Regions from separate parts of the Homo sapiens genome. Here regions 1 and 2 are each linked to region 3. The links are contacts of gene promoters, found by promoter capture Hi-C in blood cells and fetal thymus (Javierre and others, 2016). All regions are on one chromosome and are shown on one strand. The core of a region is centred on a gene start or on the middle of the fragment in contact, and the rest is flanking DNA. Distances in the headings are between cores, read along the strand shown.

Region 1 (5,013 bases), core at 265-2,764, 740 kb before region 3:
TGTCTTCATTCTGCAATCAAATATCAGCGAATCCTCTGGAGCCATTGGCAGCACCAACATGCCCACAGTGGAGGCAAAGTGAGGGACTGGTTCCAGTTTCCACTCAGCACTGATCTGCTGTGCCTCGGGGCATCTCTTGGTCCTTGAGTTTACTTTTGGTGGAATTAGGGCATGGGACTTGCTCTAAGGTGGTTTCTTCCTCTAAAGCTGTGTGATTCTGTGACTCTGTATCAGGAATTGAGCTAGCATTTGTCTAAGAAAAAAAAAAGGATAAATGTTTCTGCTTTTTGCATCACATGAACAAAGGTTAGCGGAGAAGACAGTGCCACCGAAGGACCCTGTATGCTACACACCTTTCTTTCAAGAGATGCACAAGTGCCCCAGTGCCTCAGCCAGGCCCCAGTAAACATTAAACATCGATTCCTTCTCTTTCGAGCTCACATGTCACCTCTTCCAAGCCTCCTGCCCCAACCTACACATATAGACCCGAGAATGGTCCTCTCCCTTGATGCCATAGTGCCTTGTCCTCACCTCACTGCCAGCCCCTTCCCCGTGGCAATGACCTGCAGGTGTACCCTCTGCTTCAGCCTCGACACTCTCCAAGACTGCTTCATCTTTGTCTTCTCACTCCACTTGCAGTAGCAAGTCCTCAAAGATTGTTTGAAGGGCCCAAATGTGAGTTTTAGTCTTTGCTATTATTTTCTGTACCACCTTGGCTAAGTACCTCAAAATTCTCAGTGCTTCTATTTTGTCATACACAAAACAAAGATAAACTGTTGGGCCCAACTAAAAGTTCTGAAGTTCTGAAGTGGAAGAACAGTGAATACCACAGAATAGCTGGGGCAGGCAGGCAGCCTGGGCCCTCCCACAACAATGCCAAGATGACTGAGTCTCAGAGGATCACAGAAAGTCCCCCTCCATGCGGTCAGATCAGGCCTTTGGCCTTTGGGTAAGGCTGTACTCAACTACCAAAGAAAGACAGCTTTATCTCTCTTTCAAAGAGTTCCAGCAAACCTTTGAAGTCAATGTTATGATGTTCCTGGCTAGGTGACATTGGGGAAAAGCTTCCTGTGATTTGCCCCAATTCCCTCCCCTCAGCGTCAATCCTCGGTGGAGGCAAAGAACATTTGCTCATGGCCAGCAGCTCACATCAGGTGCCTTGCTCATTCACAGCCTAAAAAATGGAGGCGAGGGGCAGGGAAAATTGTAGTTCATTCTTTATTTTGAAACCTTAATCAATGAATTAATGCCATCATTACACATTTTCTAAGACAGGAGACAAAAAGTTACAGCAAACTTGGGGTTCTCTGGGAGTTGTGGTTTACCAGGCCCACTGACACCATTCAGTTCCTTAGAAGGAGCTTGTCTCCCTTTGCATTAATTATCTTACATTGAAAAGATTCTGTTACTTTCATTTATCCTCCTAGGAAAAGTGGATTATATGCAAAATCATTAGATGACCCTTCTCATGGTAATTCTGAGTTCCATTTTACCTTTACAGGTTTATAATTAGACTTCGTATTCTAGGTTTGAATGTGTCCTAACTTTACAAAAGTCAGTGAATACTGTTAATTTCTTTTAAAAAGGTACTAGAAATAGTATATCCGGGTTTATGTTTTTCTCCTGGACCTAATTCTTCTGCCTCTGTACATTTTAGCAAGCAAACCTTTTAAGCATTTTGCCTCTTGGACTACTGCTTTTTTTCTGCATAAGGAATAGCAGTTACAAAGCCAAAAGGACCTTCTTTACATGGATCTTGCTTTGTCTTTACCTTGACAGAGGAGTGAATTAAAGATGCATTCAGCTATTGCATCAACTGGATGTTAACAAGAGAAGATAATCCGTTACATGATGTGCCTTCTTCTGTGCCCCAGAAACTTCTTCATACCTTTACCATCCCTCTCCTCTTTCAATCCCAGCTTCTGAAAAAAGAACTCGTCCTGCACTAGGTCCTTAATCCCATGAGAAGCTTCCATAACTCCCTGTCGCTTCTCTTACAATATAAAAGGTGCTCACGCCTTGAACCTTAAAAAAGTTCTTCAATCACTTGCAGATGATTTTTAAACTAGGACACATAGTTGGCTTTGGTGGACTGTAAAGAACTGAAGTAAAGGCGAAATGTTAAAAAAAATAAAAAATAAAAAAACAGCCAGAAAAACAAACCTTTACCCTGCCATGTGTGAAACTGTAGATGAGCTAGAACGAGAGTCCCCAGCTTAATGAAAACTGCCGAGGGTGGCAATAGTCCTGCTTGCCTGTGTTTCAGGGGTGGGCAAGATAAGGGATAGTGAAGATAGGGGAGTGACTAAGAGCATATCACAAGTTCATGTAGATAGTAACTTTCATGATACTGGCAAATAAGTAGCTGGACGTTACACAATAATACTTTACCTTTCTGGTTCTAACGCATTATCTTTTACGGTAGTTACAAGGACAGCCACATGTTATCAGTATTTATATGCTATTACAACACATTTGACTAAGGAGCTGATCTCAGTGTAAGATGCTTTGCTAGCATGTATACAAAAAATCAAAATGAATTAAAGGAAGTAAAGGCTTAATGTAAAAATAAAATAGGGCAGGGATAAGCACGTTTTTTCTGTGAAGGGTCAGTAAACAGGATAGGCTTTGCAGGCTCTCCATCTCCGTCACAACTCCACTCTGCCATTGTAGCATGAAAGCAGTCAAAGACAATATGTAAATACATGGGCATGGCTGTGTTCCAGTACAAATTTATTTACAAAAACAGGCAGCAGGAAGGACTGGCACACAAGCCATAGTTTGTCAAGCCCTGAAGATGAGGAAATCCCCCAAATAAGCAGAAGCACTTTAGTACTCTCCATAGAGCCCTCACTTACCCCTAGGTTACAGGGCTACATACAAGCTGTGTTTAACCTTAGAATATAAGCTCTGTGAGGTCAGAAACGTTGCAATATTCACAACTGTATTCCCAGTACTCAGTTCCCAGAGAACTGGCATAGTTGGCACAAGTACGGACTCACAATAAAGACATGTTCAATGAATTAACTAATGAATGAACAACTTATGGAGCTTTAAAAGGCAATCCTGACCATAGATGATTTTCCTATACTACCACGTCCACCCTCACTGTCATCCCGTCACGCCCCACTTCTTTGCAAACTGGACAACTGTACTGGGACTAGGGTACCAAAATTATGACTCCTTCTAAAAACTTTTACACTAATTTAGGAAAAAACTTGCTTTTCAACAGCTAAGATCACATGAAGGCATGTATATCTTACATTTTTCTTACTCCCCTTTGTCTTAGTTAAATCATTCTCTAGTAAATTCTCTTTCAAAGCAAAGGCAATGTCCAAGAGGGCAAAACCATTAATAACTATCTTTTGGGAACCACAAGTTCATGCAGATAGTAACTTTCATGATATTGCCAAATACGTATTTGGGCATTATACAATAGTACTTTCCTTTCCGGTTCTCAGGCATTATCTTTTATGGTAGTCAAAAGAGCAGTCACATGTTATCAATACTTTATCACAGGTCATGCTTCACCTATAGAAAGGTAAAAAATAACTCACACTGATCTCTCCTAAAAAAACGTGTGGTTCTCATAAGCTCTGGGCCATCGTTATACATTTATTAAGTGGCTACTAAGGGTTCTTGACATGGTGGGAAAAGCACCAAATGAAAAGCAAGGCACTATTGTGGCCCTTTCATTTCAAAAAAAGTGAGTTAGGATGACAATCATCTGCTAGGAACTACAAGTTCACGCAGATAGTTACTTTCATGATATTGTCAAATATAGTTGGACATCACACTTATAATACTTTATCTTTTGGTTCAGAGGCATTATCTTTTATAGCAGCCATGATGAGCTTATTTAAAGATAAAATATAACTGAATGCTAATTAACATAGATTTGAATGCTAAATTCATTAGGAACTATGTTCAAAGCCTAATGTTGAACAAACTTCAGACAATAGAGTTAAGAATTTTTTTTTTCTGTAAAGGACCTTAATGATCACTTGACATTCTCACTCTACAGATGAGATCCAACTAAGAAGAACAGAATACTTGCTATCTTCAGAGTAGAATATTTTGAAATGTGTGAGTATAATACATGTTTTATAGCCAACTAAAGATGTATCAAATGTTCCCCACGTGCTCCTTGGTAAAAAGCATATGAATATTTTGCTAATCCTGAGCCCATATAGTTTAAAAAAAGGGGGGAGCAGATGTTTGAAGATGTGCTATCCTCAAACTCAAACATGACTTCACATGTCAACATATGTTGGATTTGATTTCAGCCTGCTCAGGTAAGTCCCACGACAAGACACTCTTCCTACCCAGGAAGACTTCAACTTTCAAAGCACAGAGAGTCAGGTACTTAATGTGCAAAGATAGTTCAGTTTCCTTGGAAGAAAATCAGGAATAGAAGCCTTCTGTTTGGGTTGAGTGTTTCCCTAAAACCTGTTGAGTAGTAGTTTTTCCTAATATTGGACAGCAGTTAACTAGGAGCAGACAGATTGAATGAAGATGCCCATATCAACCTTGGTTACCACCTTGAGGTAGGCCTGAGCTGCTGCTTTTACTTCTTTGGCTGCAATCAAAGGCATCTCTGATTTTCTTCCTGCCACAACATTTCCTTAGCATTTTAATGCAATTTGCCCCAGAAAATGATTTGTTTCACCAAATTCTTTTTACTAGGTAATTTTCTAGAACACATGTGCTTTTATAAGGAAGTTAAAACTGTATTTCAAAGGTAAGCACAACCACAAACTAAGACACAATTACACTGTAATCCCAAAACGTGTATAAGTCATCCGGCACACACACACCTCTGTTTGCGCATTCTCCCTGATTCAACCACATCAACCATAAACACTGAGGTTCACAGATAGGAGAGTTCTAATACTCTAAACATAGGCCCTTCTCAGAAAGCCACAGTCATCAAAGACCACAGGTGAAAGACAACAGTTAAATGAGATACTATTCACAGGCTTTCAGATCAACATACACAGAGAGGTCATTATA
Region 2 (4,781 bases), core at 1,730-4,229, 690 kb before region 3:
TTGGTAAATAATGTATACACTGTAGAAAAACTGGAAAATAGATGAGCAGACAGAATAAAATGTAAATTACCTGTAGTCACCTCATCCATTATTCACTTTTTGATTTTAATCATCCTGGCCTTTCACATGTATGTGTGATTTTTCAGTCATACAGTGAAACACTTCCAGTTCTGTCTCCTTTATCTGATGCTTTCATGCTCTGGATCTTAAAACCTGGCCAGTCATTTCCCCAGTGATGGATGCTGAGTGTCAGCAACAGCTCTAGGTAAGTTGGCAACCATGACATGTATGGGCTAAGGCTTGCAAGGCTTCTCTGGCCACACAGAATCCAATTGCAGTCAGAGCAGAAACAGAAGCCAAGGCGATGCAGTGGGATCCCAGTTTCACAGTGACCATCCATTGGTCACTGTGACCAGTCACGATAGCCTCCACATCCAAAAAGTGATTTCAGTCTTTGGTTATGTATAGTGAACAACACCTGCACATTTATCTCCACTGTCTCCTGAAACTCCACTAAAATAGTAGTAAAGAAATAGGGCTGGGTGTGGTGGCTCATGCCTGTAATCCCAGCACTTTGGGAGGCTGAGACCAGGGGATCACTTGAGTGAGGGCAACATAGGGAGTTTGAGGGTAACATAGGGAGACCACTGTCTTTCAAAAAAAAAAAAAAAAAAAGAAAAGACTTAAGTCCTTCAAGACAGGGAGGACAGGAGAGGTGCTGAAAGCAGACAGGACAGGTTAGAATTTGGAAAATAGAAAGCAGGTGGGCAAGTGGTAAAGTGGCATTAAGCATGGGCTGTGTGTTGAAGTGCTAGATCCACGACTGAGTTCGAGCAAGTTAGTTAACTCTCCATGTCATGATAAATTAGAGGAAATATTATCATAATACCTACCCACAGAGTTGAAAGGAGTAACAGATAACACTCCACGTTAATTGCATAGGACAATGCCTGACTGAGTTGGTGCTCAGTAAATAGCAGCCATTATATGTATTATAACTGTTGCTGTTCCAGAGAGATCTGAGACCTCAGCCAGAAGCAGGGGAAGCTAAAAAGTGCAAATCAACTCAACTGGCCTCCCATGGAAGGTAAGGTACCACATGGAAACAGCAAGACCCTGCGGGAAGTATCCCCAGCCAACTCCCAGAACTCAAGTTGTCAGGCTCACACCATCAGGCAGGAAAGTGGAGGCTTCCCCTCTAGGAAAAGACCCCTTCCCACAAAAAAAAGACCTACGGATACTGACATTTAGGAATCAACAGAATAGGTCCTCTCCCACGCCTCTCAGTCAGCAAGTACCACCTACCCACGTAGTTTCTAGTTAACATCGTAGTGGCTCCTTCTTGGCTATCAATGGACAAGCAAGGAACACCAAGTATTTGAAGACAAAGTCTAAATGAGTGACAGAGAATCAGACTTTTTAAATAAGCAGAGAAAGGGGACATGATGGAAATAAAAAAATGCAGGTAGTAGAAGAAATCTGAAAAACAAAATTCTATTTCTTCAAAGACATGGAAGAAGAAACAAGAACAAAAGGCTATGAGGAAACATTGGAAGTCAGAGCCTTTGAATAATACTTAATGTGATAGTGAAATATGTTTAAATGTCAGATGACACATAGAATGTCAAAGCTGGAAGTTTCCCTAGAAGTCACTTACTGACCAACTATCCCCATGTGGAGGTGAGGAAATGGGGGCTCATGAAGGGTGAAGTTGTTTGCCTCAGGTGGTATAACCAGGACCCTCACAAATTAAAGGCGTGTATTCATGCAGAGGGCCTGGCAGTTGTAAGCACTCAGTAAATTCTAGTCTTAATAATGTTTATTAAGAACTTAGATGTTACTGCATGATCTTACTTATTTGTAAAATCTAAAAAAGTCAAACTGATAGAAGAGAGTAGAGTGGTGGTTACCAGGGGCTGGAGGGAAGGGTGGATGGGGAAAGCAGAGATATTAGTTCAAGGGTATGTAAAGTTTCAGCTAGGAGGAATACATTCTAGTGATCTGTGGCATAACATGGTCACTGTAGTTATTAACAATGCATATGTTTAAATGGCCAAAAGAGCATATTTTAAATGTTCTCACCACAAAGAAAGGATAAGTATATGAGGTGATAGATACGTTAATTAGTCTGATTTGCTCATTTTGCAATGTGTACATGTATCAAAACATCACATTGTACTCCACAAACATGTACCATTATTTGTTAATTTAAAAATGCAGAGAATCAAGAACTTATATGTTCAACCTGGGCAACATAGACCTCATCTCTAGAAAAAATAAAAACAAAATTGGCCAGGCATGGTGGTACGTGCCTGGAGTCCCAGCTATTCAGAAGCCCGAGAAGTGGAGGCTGCAGCGAGCCAAGATCACGCCACTGCACTCTAGCCTGGGTGACAGAGTAAACCCTGTTTTCAAAAGAAAGAAAGAAAGAAATTATATGCAAGTAATAATAAAGTTGTTTAAAAACTTTGAGAGATTATGTGTTAAGTATGGGGCAGAAGGCCTTCTTTTATATGGATTATCTCATTTGTGCTCACAACACACAGGTATTATTGTTCCTATTTTATAAATAAGAAATTTCAGGTTAAGAGAGTTTAAATAAACTTGTCAAGCTCATCCTGGTTACTGAGTAGTGGAGCAAGGCTAACTCCAGAATGCTTTCTCATAGCCAGAGCCAGGAGTAGAGTCCAGTTCTAAAGAAATAACATCAAAACTCCAATATGTTACAATTCCCACTGGAGCTTAGACCAGCGCTGCCCACTAGAAATATAATTTGAACCACATATGTAATTTTTAAGTTTCTAGAGCCATTTTTTTATTAAAAAGGTGAAGTTAATTTTAATAATTTATTTTAATCCAGTACTATCCAAAACAGTATCATTTTGACACGTACTCAATATAAAAATTACTAATGGGATTTTTTTACACTTTAAAAAATTCTAAATCTTTGGAATCTGGAGTGTAATTTACACTTCCAGCACACTTCTACTGGCTTAGCCATGTTCCAAGTGCTCATAGCCACATGTGACCAGTGACTACTGTAATGGACAGCGCAGCCATCAACCAAGGGGTACATCATAAGAAAGAGAGTCAATGGATGGTGTGTGTCAAGTTCAACCTCACAGTTTCTCTCCTTGTGTAATTGGCATAGGGATAGGTAAGCCGAGCAGGGAGCTAATACCCAATTAATTGTTAGGCTCAGTACCTATGTATACTTCTCCTGATTCCACCAGAAGGTGTCCCTTGTCTGTCTCCAAAATATTCCACATTGCCTCTATCCCAGCAGTTATCACATTCCATTTTAATTCTGTTTTTACATGCGAATGCCCTCCATCAAACTGTGGTTGAGGACAGGGTCCATTTCTTTTAAATCTCTGATTCCAAAGCACCTCTCTGTTGTGAACATGAGATAAAAGGATCCCTATAAAGCACTGGACACATTTCATGGGCTCTTGATGCTCTATTGGAAGAAACTAACAAAAGCATCCTTTTGTCACTAGGTGACACTCTTGTCCCAGCCTTTTTGTTTTTGCTCTTATTCTTCATAGTGTTAGGGGGAGCTGATTTTCACATTCACAAGAAAATAGGAACACCCCAGATCTTTCTGACTGACTTTCAAAGCTGCAAGTGACAGGATCTAAGATTTAAGGTGTATATTCAAACAGAAATGCCATTTTTGTGACAGTGCCCTAACTCCTGCCATGCCAACTCTTCAGCAAGTAGCCCAGAAATCTCAGTTTTCTTGGCCATTGTTTTTTTTTTTTTTTTTTTTTTTTAATCTGGCCAGTTTGTCCTGGCTGCATGAGGAAATTGAATATCCTGATTTGGAATGAATAGGAAAGGGATCCTGGGATAGTATCTGAGGTTGGGGTTGTTGAGATCCAGAAGAGGGGCCAACCTGTCCCCATTTGACAAGCAAGTGGCCTGATTTGTGACTCTCTTGAGAGGCCCACAGCCCCTCTTGCTGTGGTCTAATGCTCAGTGCAGAGTTTTTGGGGGATCACTGTTAAATCCACTCAAGGCTTCCATATTTGCACCTTCTTCTTATGAATCCAGTAAATATCTAGCAGCAGAATTGAGATTCAGAAAACTGTGCAAGACTATCCTAAGAATGCTGGCCAATTCTGGACATGGTGTGCATGTGTGTGTATGGTAGATTGAAGAAGGATAGTGTGGAGATTGCATAAGCAGCATAGGCTTCTTTTGCTGAAATGGCTTTTCTGTGCAGACTAACTTTTCCTCAAGTCCTGGAAATACATCCAGCCCAATTTATTGTATTCAGGCCAAAGGAGCAGTAAGTTGAAACCTGCTCTATAAGTAGGGTGATCAAATAGTCAATTTATTGTCAAAATCAGGACACTTTTTAGAGGAAAGAGTAGTGTTTTTTTTGTAATTGCACTGGAACAGCAAGCATAAATCGGGAGGCTCCTGAGCGAACTGGGATGGATGGTCACTATACTCAAGGCATGGCCAGTGCCCTACATTTGGCTTTTTGTCAGATGTAACTCAGAATGAAGGTTATCCATTCTTTTCTGGCTATTTTTCTTCCTCTATAGAAGAGAAGAAAATACCAGCGGTGTTTCCTAGTGTGTGACGAGTAGAGTGACGATTAGACCTCACTAATTTCCATGATTTTACCAGGAAAACCACTTTGCAGAAGGGTCCAATGTATCTGTTGCCCTGCACTGGATTCTGAAGTCCCTCGGAATGCTCACTGACTTCTGCATTTGGCTAACAGAGGCTTTAGTACCAGGAATTCCCAACAGCTTAAAAAAGTGAAT
Region 3 (4,860 bases), core at 798-3,297:
ATGGCACTGTGGCAGCTTCCCAGATCTACAAAGCAAGTGAGACAGTATCTGTTGTTTAAGAGGTCATAATCTCTTTCGGATTAAGGTGATACAAAAATAATAACACAGAGAAGCTGAAGCATCATGGAGAGGCACACAAGGAATGCTTATTGAGGTCTGAATTTTTAAAAGACTGGACACGTCTTTAAAATACATTTGGTGTTCGTTAAAATAATCTAGTGTGATAACCTCTGGAAATCACATTATTTTAAATGGAGGGAACTAGCCTTCTTTAATTTTTTTTTTAAAAAGCAGTTGGAAAACTTGAAGACAGGGACTTACTTACCTTTCCACATGTCTCTGTCAGGAACCAGTTTTCTAGGAAGGGTGGCAGAAATGAGCTTCATATGTTTCTGGAATGCAAGAATGTAGAAAGGGGGGTGGAGGTTCAAAGTCCAGGTAGCCCTCTGTGAGAACGCAGGAATCAAATCAGGACAAACAAAAGAAGGGTGAAGTGGGTAGGGCAACGGAGTTTCGGGATTGACTGGAATGAGAGTTAAGGTGATAATGCTGGGGTGGAAATGAAAGTCAGACCCCTCCTTACGGACTGGGAAGAAAGGAGCCCTCCTAGTAAAGTTGAAAAGACCAAGTGTCCTCTTCTCCATTTCACCGGGGAAACGCTCCTGTGCCTAGTCGTAAGGTACAGGAGAGTCTATGGAGCCCATGGAGAGTCTAATGCAAAAACTAGTTTCCGACCAAACTTTGCCTTGGCCACTGAGCATGCTCAGCTTTGTCTTCTATAGAAAAGTGAACTCCGTGGCTCCAGATTTTAGCTATAGCAGCTGGAGGGCGGGAGTGAGTGTGGGAGAGCCAGCGTGGCAGCGGCCGCAGGTGGAAACCTGGAGTTTGAGTATGCTTGAAAGGGAAAGTGTGGAACGAAGGGGCGGCCGGGTGGGGAATCAGAGAAGCCCCCAAGGAAATGATTCATCATTGTGATTGACCTTGACTTTAGCAACCCTTCATTAAAGGAGAAAATTTGGTTATTCGGAGATGGGGACTGTGTTGCAAACAGTTACAGGCAAAGAGGGGCAGTTCAGGATTCCGGCCGTGGTCCGCAGGAATGAGTCGGGGCGAGGGAATGGTTGTTATAACCCAATAGTGAGCCTCCCCGGTCATCCGGGCTGGACGGGACTGGGGTTGTAGCAGAAAAGCAGGAGCTGTATGGAGGATGCTCACCTGGCAGCCTCGATCTGCCCCTCTTCCCTCGCTCCTCCCTCCGCACCAGCCACAGCTAGTTGTCAGGGGCCAACATCTGGGCCGGGCTGGAACTGGCTCAGAAACTCGCGTTTGCCTGCTTATTTCTGCAGCTGGGCTCCTTGCCAGGTGCAACCACATCTATGAGAATCTCGCAGACTCTCAGACTCCTATGCCTTTGCTGGTACAGGGAGGAGGATTTACTATCACTCACTGCATAAACCATGATCACCAGAGATGTGCTCCCAAGTTACAAAGCCTGCAGGCGGTGCCCGAGGACCAGAGGGCCGGGCGCGGCCAGCTCACACTTCTGGGGCAGCCGTGAGCAGCGGGCACACGGGCAGCCACGAAAGCAGCAGCGAGGGTGGTGCAAACACCTCAAAACTACACCGAATCCAGTAGCGCCTGGCGCCCCCGGCGCGCAAGGTACGCTTTGGGGCGGTCCTGTGTGACCCCGGAAGAGAAAGTTGTTTTGGGGAAGGGGAGCAAGGAGAGGAGTGCGAGTTAAATAAAACTAAATATCAAAGTTGTTCTGCTCTGCTCAGGCCGCCTCTACTCCGCCTCATCTTTGTCCCAAGTCCTTTCACAGTCTGCCTTCCTCAAACGGCCCGATGCGCCCCCGTCTTTGCCGGAGTAAGCAGACCGCCAGCAGCCGGCCCGCAGGTCAGTCGACCCTCTCTGGATGCAGGTCGCCGGGAAAACCCGGAGCGGAGCATCCCTCGGGCCGGGAAACGCCCTCGGCGCGCACCCACTGGCGCGCATGCTCAGTCCGCGCGGCGGCTGCGAGTAGGAAGCTCCGCGCGGCGGCGGGGGCGGCGACGGCGACTGGCGGGTGGGAGTGGAGGCACCGGCTGGCGGGCGGGGGTACAGGGACGGGGCAGGGGCTCCCGCTCCAGGTTCCTTGAAGCACTTCCGACCGCGAAGCCCGGCGCGAGAAGCGAGCTAACCCAAGAGCCAACAACGAGCGCGGAGAGGGCAGCGGACTGAGCGGAGCCGCCGGCCAGAGCGGGCTCGGAGCCCGGGTCTCCGCCGCTCGGGACCCGGCTAGGCGGCGGCGGGGGCGGCGATGTTCCACTGCATCCCCCTGTGGCGGTGCAACCGTCATGTGGAGAGCATCGACAAGCGCCACTGCTCGCTGGTCTACGTCCCCGAGGAGATCTACCGCTATGCCCGGAGCCTGGAGGAGCTGCTGCTGGACGCCAACCAGCTCCGCGAGCTGCCCGAGGTAAGGGTCCGGCCTCACCTGAGCGCTCTGCCCGCTCGTCTGCTGTCCCTTCCGCTCCCATCCTCTCTCGTCCCCTCTTCCATCTCCGGGTCCGGCGTGAAGGAACCTTCCCTCTTTTATGCATTCACCTGCTTCTTTCTCCCCCTGTCTCTTTACTTCCATCCTTTCCCAGTAAAAGTTCCTTTTCATTTTATTCAAAGTGACCGGATATTTTGCGCGTAGTCACTGGGGCTCGTGCTATTGGAGAAGCGTTCTGGACTGTTAAGTAACTTAGATCCATGCTAGGTACTGACACCTGGCACTTGTGCCCGGTCAGGTGAGAAGCCGGGTGATTCGGGCTGTTTCCATCTGGAAGCTACAGAGCACTGCATCCTCCCCCCCTCCACTCCCCGGGGTCGTTCCCCCACCAAGGGCCGGGCGCGCCTCTCCTTTAGTCAAGGCATGTCCCGGAGGACCTTGTGACCTGGGCAGCGCTCAAGCGGGCCGCACTATCTCGGCATCTTGGGAGGAATGAGGAATGTGCTCCGTGCTTTATCGCGGGTGGGCTTGGCCGGCTGGCCTGCGGTGGCTGCGGGGGTGGACGCGAGATGGGCGCAGGGGAGAGCTGGGCCTGGAGCGCTAGGGGCAGGTGCCCAGATGCCGGCCGCCCGGGCCTTGCCTACGTGGACCTGTTGCGTGGTGGGAGCTGCGGTGAACGTCAGCGGAGGCTCTGCCCGCGGGCCAGCCTTGCAGCCGCCTTTCCCGGAGCGGGCACAGTCGTCCTGCTGACTTTCTCTCCTTGCAGTGATGCGTTATCTCTTCAGAGTTGTTTATGTAAATTGATCACTCCATTGCCGCCGAACTTGTCAAGCGACATGTGCTGATGGTGCTTTGACCGAGAGTAGGGGTACAGCGAACTTCTTTCAAGCTTGCCTCGGGAACTTAGCTAGAGTAACCCCTCGGGGAAGGTGTCTCAAACCCAGGTGTGTGCAGGAAGTCGGTGTGCAATAATCCAAAGGTGTGCAGGAAGTAGGGAGACTGCTGGCAGTCGGGGATTGGACCTGTTTTAGGCCTGAGCTTTGGAACGCAAACTTCTTGTTGCCCTTTAGTTAACACAAGCCAAATCATTGTCACAGAAACACTAGTCAAGTGTTCTGACTTGTTAGAATGACCTGATACGTTCTCCAGCGCTGATGGAGCATTTAAACAATAAGAACTGTGTGTTTTTCTCAATATTTTAAGTGGTGGTGTTCTTCTTGGATTAACTTTCCTGGGTTCATGTGGAATTGATTGGATGTTTGCTCTGTGTAATCATGGAGATTATCCTCACTAGGACCTTTGCAAAGCCCCCCAGGCTTTATTTAGCTTAGAAGCAGCAAAGCCATCAAGTTCCCTCAGGCGTTTATTATTTCGCAGGCATTTTCAAACACATGATTTTTTTCTGGCCTTTTACGTCCTTGAAGATTTCTTACCAGTCGTCAGCTCCCTCACTGCTTTAAGTTGTGTAATTTTAGGCAGTGATATCACCAGGAATATAGAATATGTAATTTAATAGTTTTCAGGGGCTTCAGGATGACATTATTGAAGATGGAGTGAAAAGTTATTCACTAGAAATGATTCATTGCTCTTTGTGGTATTTGTTTTTTTGTTTTCTTTTGTAGAACTGGAAGATTTCCTTTGACTGGATTGGCTTTTCACTCCCTTCTGCAGGGTTTGTGGGTTTTCCTGTAATGTTGGGGAATTCAGCTTGGCATGGGAAATTACATAATTTCCCATGCCAAGCCGAAATGTCAGGTCTTTCTGTGATCCTAAATGGAAACTTGTCAGAATCTCAAAATATAGTCTGATGGCACTCTGTAAATATGGTAAATAAACAAGCTTTTCAAAGGTTACAGGTGATCTTGCTAATGGATTATTATTGCTCTAACAGCTGTTAAATTAGTATTAAAGTTTTTAGGTTGTGTAAAATCTACTTCTCCCTGACTTATTGTGTGTCTTGGTGCCTGGGTGTGTACATGCCAGACATGAGAACCACCTTGCAAACATAGATATCTGTTCCATCCCTTCCATTCTTTCCTTGGGCTATCTGTTGTCTCACCTCTGAGATCTGTATAACTTATTACCACTGGTCTCTGCTGCTCCTGCTCCAAACCCCTGTCTCCTTACCTGCCACACACAAGCGCATCTGTTTTGTTCACAAGCCTCAAAGGTCCTTATTTTGGTGGCCATACCAGCTGTATGTTCTCCTCTCTATAATTTGTTTGGAAGCACAGCTTAAGGGGAAGCCGGTACCCCTTACCAGGGCAGCAAAGATGCACTCTCCAGGTTTCAGTGTAATAACAGCCACCTTCTTTCCACTGAAAGGCCTGCAACTTCTGGTTTGCGCCAATATCTTCCTTTTACAAATTCAGATTCAGAATTGA

Evidence for each region. Contacts are between HindIII fragments. The CHiCAGO score rates a contact against its expected background, and 5 or more counts as called.
Region 1: a fragment that was not itself captured here is called in contact with the fragment with the promoter of LRRC1 in region 3 in 2 of 17 cell types (total B cells and activated CD4 T cells); the score reaches 6.5 in total B cells.
Region 2: a fragment that was not itself captured here is called in contact with the fragment with the promoter of LRRC1 in region 3 in 1 of 17 cell types (total B cells); the score reaches 5.2 in total B cells.

Annotation. Positions count from the first base shown.
Region 1 is chr6:53,053,739-53,058,751 of GRCh38, forward strand. All of the region lies in intron 1 of CILK1 (ciliogenesis associated kinase 1), which reads right to left. Among named protein-coding and RNA genes, the nearest start is that of CILK1, 5.6 kb to the right of the region's middle. The HindIII fragment of the contact is 905 bases long and covers 1,063-1,967 here.
Region 2 is chr6:53,100,972-53,105,752 of GRCh38, forward strand. No RefSeq gene overlaps it. Among named protein-coding and RNA genes, the nearest start is that of FBXO9, 38 kb to the left of the region's middle. The HindIII fragment of the contact is 6,462 bases long and covers 1-4,781 here.
Region 3 is chr6:53,792,958-53,797,817 of GRCh38, forward strand. It overlaps LRRC1 (leucine rich repeat containing 1), which reads left to right and starts at 2,048. Exons shown (of 14, transcript NM_018214.5): 1 at 2,048-2,458. The coding sequence starts at 2,300. LOC124901333 (a long non-coding RNA gene) reads right to left here and starts at 718. Exons shown (of 5, transcript XR_007059619.1): 1 at 584-718; 2 at 326-392. RefSeq lists silencers at 739-868, 1,914-2,153 and an enhancer at 2,120-2,832. The HindIII fragment of the contact is 4,441 bases long and covers 1-3,363 here.